Linked DNA regions of Homo sapiens: region 2 is linked to region 1. Evidence: promoter capture Hi-C in 16 types of primary human blood cells and fetal thymus (Javierre and others, 2016). All regions are on one chromosome and are shown on one strand. Each heading gives the region's core, a stretch centred on a gene start or on the middle of the fragment in contact. The rest is flanking DNA. Distances are from core to core; before and after follow the strand shown.

Region 1 (2,700 bases), core at 15-2,514:
ACTGTAGATTCATTCATTTGGTTTCGTACATATATCTTATCATATTCCTCACTTTTTGTAAGCGTCTCCCCTTGAATCCTATGCTTTTTAAACTTCTTGAGGACAGGGGCAATTTCTTCCTTATTTTTGTCTAATTAGACCCATGAACACTGTAGATACTCAAGAAAGGTAATTAATTAGGTGGGAGGATCCTGCCAGTGCATCTTCTATTTCTAGGGGCCAGAATACGAGCACATGAACCTAACATGATCTAGACAAGATTTAGAGATGCAGTTGAAGATACTGACAAATATTGGAACAATCTACCACAAAGGTGATACTGAGTCACTATTTTTGCAGAGCTTTGTTACTAGTTTGCCTTAAATAATTCAGAGTTTGTCCTGAGGGTAGGGAGTGGATAACAGTGAATTTAATCTTTTAAATTTCCTTCAAGTTTTATGATCGTGACACGGGGGCAACAGGAGAAGAGAAAAAGTTTGGAAACCAAACACAAATGTTTTCAGATTCCTGCTAGGTATGTAAATGGCTAAGTCAATGCCGGTAGGGGTACTCATTCAGAAACACCCAGTGCCACTCTGTACGGGCCACTAAATTGGGCACTGCGGATATAAAGGTTCATTCCTCGCTTACTGTACCCACAGCTGCCAAGAAATGACCACTACAAAACAGTCGTTATAACTGAGGGAACAAAGCGCCAAAGCAGCAACAAAAAGGGGTTCTTGCTGCTTCGCGGGATAGGGGGCTGAGCAGCCTCACAAAGGCGACGTCCTCGCAGTCTGAAGAGGAGTGGGCAAGGCGGACGAGGGTGGGGCTCAAGCGTCCGTCCGGTAAAAGTGAGCTGGAAGAACCGAGGCCCAGCGTGAGGAGGAACCGCGAACTACTTGCAGAAGGGCGAACGTCTGCTGCTGAAGGTGGAGAGGGAGTACCAATGTACGAGGCTTTATAGAAATGGCCGTTTGGTAAAGGGCAGTGACTCTGGAGCTTTTTCTCTAGGGATCCCGCCCGTCCTCCCCGGTTGAGCCTCGGCCCCAACAGCCCAGTGCCTCACCCAAGTGCCCCGAGTCCTGCTTCCGCCTCCGCTGCAGCCTCTCCCGCAGAGAGTCCAGCTGCTTCTTGTGGGCCTGGATAGAGCTCCACGTGTCCGACATCCTAGTCTCCCAGCCCTGACACCTCTCGAATAAGGCGCGGCGGACTAGCACCTCCCAGCACTCGCTCCAGGATATAGCCAATTCTCACGCGGACACCCCGAAGGCTAACCGGAAAATGACCCCTGGAGCTGAGCAAGACAGAAAAGTCATTTCCGGTGTCGCGCTTTCTTGGAAGCTATAAAGAGCCACGTTAGGTGTTGGCAGAGCGGCCGGTATAGTCCTCATACCCGCTCTCTCATGCTTCCGGACACAGTGAGGCTGTGGTTGCCATGTTGGTGACTGGCAGAGCGGCCATGTTGCTTATAGACGCGCATGCGGCCATGTTGAATATTCGGAGAGGAGTCCTGAGAGTTGACTTGTGTTAAAGTAGCACTCGTAGAGAGCAACACCATATAGTACAGTTTTGGGGGTTTTTTTCTTTTTTTTTTTTTTGAGACGGAGTTTCACTCTGTCGCCCTGGCTGGAGTGCAATGGCGCGATCTCGGCTCACAGCAACCTCCACCTCCCGGGTTCAAGTGATTATCCTGCCGCAGCCTCCCGAGTAGCTGGTATTACAGGCGCCCGCCACCACGCCCGGCAGATTTTTTGTATTTTTAGTAGAGACGGGGTTTCACTGTGTTGGCCAGGCCAGTCTCGAACTCCTCACCTCGTGATCCGCCCTCCTTGGCCTCCCAAAGTGCTAGGATTACAGGCGTGAGCCACCACACCCGGCCATAGTACAGATTTTTAAGATGAAGGATCACTAGTTCCTTTTGACAGTTTGGTACTAACATACCTTTTCCACTGAAGGTGGTGTTGGTTTGTTTCCATGCGTTCATTTACAAAAAAATAAAAAACACAACGGTGGTCCCCAATCTGAGGTGAGGAGGGGGCGGTGGTGGGTGCGGGCATGCTTCTTTGTGTTGACGAGGCGTGGGGAAGTGGGGAGGGCTGATGAAGGAAAAATCCGAGAGGTCTTCAAATACGTGATCTCTCTCTTAGGCTAAATTTACAAAGTACGTGTAATCTATTAAAATCGGGTTCCGACACTAAGAGGGCTTTGAGGTCCTGGTTGCGTTGTGTTTTTTGTTATGAGAGCTACCTGCATGAGTGTGTTCAGTTTGTGAAATGTAATTGAGCTGAACATTTTGGTGTGCACTTTTCTGTATGTGTAGTAAACTTAAATACAAGGTTGGTGGTGGTGGTTTTTCCTACAATCCTTTCTTTCTTTCTTTTTTTGACACATTTTCTTTTTTTTTTTTTTTTGAGATGGAGTCTCACTCACTCTGTCACCCAGGCTGGAGTGCAATGGCGTGGTCTCAGCTCACTGCAACCTCCGCCTCCTGGGTTCAAGCGATTCTCCTGCCTCAGCCTCCCGAATAGCTGGGATTACAGGCGCGTGCCACCACACCTGGCTAATTTTTTTTATTTTTAGTAGAGACAGGGTTTCACTATGTTGGCCAGGCTGGTCTCGAACTCCTGACCTCGTGATCTGCCCCTACGATCTGCCCCCCTGCCTCAGCCTCCCAAAGTGCTGGGATTACAGGCGTGAGCCACCGAGCCTGGCCTGACA
Region 2 (2,700 bases), core at 39-2,538, 1.2 Mb before region 1:
TGATCATCTCAGATGCAGAAAAAGCATTTGGCAAAATGTAACATTTTTTCATAATGAAATAAAATCCAACAAAGTAGGAATGAAAGGGAGCTTCCTCCACCCTATGAAGAACATCTATGAAAAACTCACAGCTAACATTACAATGGTGAAAGATTGAAAGCTTATCCTCTAAGATCAGGAATAAGACCAAGATGTTTGCACTCACCACTTCCATTCAATATTGTACTGGAGGTTCTAACCATGGTACTTAAGCAAGAAAAAAAAGGCATCAAGATTAAAAAGGAGATAAAACTAAATTTGCAAATTACGTGATCTATAGAGAAGGCCCAAAAGAATCCATATTTAGAGCTAAAAAGTTCAGCAAGATTGTAGGATACAAGATGAATTGTATTTCTTTTTTTTTCTTTTTCTTTTTTTTTTTGAGACGGAGTGTCTTGCTCTGTTGCCCAGACTGGAGTGCAGTGGCGCAATCTTGGTTCACTGCAACCTCCACCTCCCGGGCTCAAGTGATTCTCCTGCCTCAGCCTCCCGAGGAGCTGGGGCTACAGGTGCCCACCACCACGCCTGCCTAATTTTTGTATTCTTAGTAAAGACAGGGTTTCACCATATTAGCCAGGCTGGTCTCGAACTCCTTACCTTGTGATCCTCCCACCTCAGCCTCCCAAAGTGCTGGGATTACAGGCATGAGCCACTACACCCAGCCTGTATTTCTTTTTATTTTATTTATTTTTCTGGAGATGGCATTTTACTCTTGTTGCCCAGGCTGGAGTGCAATGGTGAGATCTCAGCTCACTGCAACCTCTGCCTCCGGGTTCAAGTGATTCTCCTGCTTCAGCCTCCCGCCTCGGCTTCCCAACTAGCTGGGATTACAGGCATGTGCCACCATGCCTGGCTAATTTTTGTATTATTAGTAGAGACAGGGTTTCACCATGTTGGGCCCAGGCTGGTCTTGAACTCCTGACCTTAGGTGATCCACCCACCTTGGCCTCCCAAAGTGCTGGCATTACAGGTGTGAGCCACCACGCCTGGCCTATGAATTGTATTTCTATTTCTACACACTAGTAAAGAATAATCTGAAAAATTAAGAAAACAATTCCATTTATAATAGCGTCAGAAAGAATAAAACACTAGGAATAGATTTAACCAAAGAAGCATGAAACTTGTACACTGATAACTACAAAACTATTGAAAAACATTCAAGGCCACCTTTATTTATTTATTTATTTATTTATCTGAGACAGAGTCTTGTTCTGTTGCCCAGGCTGGAGTGCAGTGGCACAATCTTCCCTTAATGCAACCTCTGCCTCCCGGGTTCAAGTGATTTTCCGGCCTCAGCCTCCCAAGTAGCTGGGATTACAGGTGTGCACCGCCACACCCAGCTAATTTTTGTATTTTTAGTAGAGATGGGGTTTCACCATGTTGGCAGGCTGGTCTTGAACTCCTGACCTCAAGGCCCACCTCAGTCTCCCAAAGTGCTGGGATTACACACTTGAGCCACCATACCCAGCTAAGACCTATTTATTTAGGTCTTGAATTTCTGTCAACAGTTCTGTAGTTTTCAATCTACAAGTGTTCGTAGATTGGAAAATTTATTATTAAAATGGTAATACTTCCCAGAGCAACCTATAGATTCCATACAATTCCTATTAAAATTCCATTATCCTTTTTTTTTGCAGAAATGGCCAAGAAAAATTCATAAGGAATTACAAAGATCATGAATAACAAAAACAATCTTGAAAAAGCTACAGTACTCAAGACAATGTGATAATGACATAGGATAGACATAGAAATCAATGGGATAGAATTGAGAGTCTGGATATAAACCCAAGCAAATATGGTCAATTGGTTTTCAACAAGGGTGCCAAGACCATTCAATGGGGGAAAAATAGTCTTTTCAACAAATGGTGCTGGGACGACTTGGATATCCACATGCAAAGTAATAAATTAGGAACACTATCTCACACTACGTAAAAATTAAAATGGATCAAAGGCCTAAATGTAAGCTAAAACTAAAAAGCTCTTAGAGCATAAGGAGAAATCTCTGTGACCTTGGATTAAGCAACAGTTTCTTAAATATGACACCAATGCACAAGCAAGCAAAAGAAATAAGTTGGTCTTCGTCAAAATTTAAAACTCTTGGCCGGGTGTGGTGGCTCACGCCTGTAATTCCAGCACTTTGGGAGCCAGAGGCAGGCAGATCATCTGAGGTCAGGAGTTTGAGACCAGCCTGGCCAACATGGTGAAACCCCATCTCTAGCAAAAATATGAAAAATTAGCCAGGCGTGGTGGCATTTGCCTGTAATTCCAGCTACTCAGGAGGCTAAGGCCTGAGACTAACAAATCTCGGCAAAGATATGGACAAATAAAAATCCTCACACATTGCTAGTGCGAATATAAAGTGGTGCAGCTGCTTTGGAAAAGCTTGGCAGTTCCTCAAATAGTTGAACATAAGAGTTATCAGGACCTAGCAATTCCACTACTAGGTGTATAACCAAGAGAATAAAAAAGCAATGTTCACACAAAAATTTGTACATGCATATTGATAGCAACAATATTTATAATAGCCAAGAAGTAGAAACACTCCAAACATCCATCAACCAATAAATGGATAAACAAAATGTGGTTTATTCCTGTTAGATATGTTAACTATCTTGACCGTGGTAATAATTTTATTAATATATATATATGTCAAGCTTTATC

What was found. The method cuts DNA at HindIII sites, captures the fragments that hold promoters and counts their contacts. A CHiCAGO score of 5 or more calls a contact.
Region 2: a fragment that was not itself captured here is called in contact with the fragment with the promoter of METTL3 in region 1 in 1 of 17 cell types (monocytes); the score reaches 5.6 in monocytes.

The regions. Positions count from the first base shown.
Region 1 is chr14:21,510,076-21,512,775 of GRCh38, forward strand. METTL3 (methyltransferase 3, N6-adenosine-methyltransferase complex catalytic subunit) reads right to left here and starts at 1,265. Exons shown (of 11, transcript NM_019852.5): 1 at 1,049-1,265. The coding sequence starts at 1,148. RefSeq lists an enhancer at 1,308-1,547. The HindIII fragment of the contact is 13,792 bases long and covers 1-2,700 here.
Region 2 is chr14:20,359,299-20,361,998 of GRCh38, forward strand. No RefSeq gene overlaps it. Among named protein-coding and RNA genes, the nearest start is that of PARP2, 17 kb to the left of the region's middle. The HindIII fragment of the contact is 2,261 bases long and covers 159-2,419 here.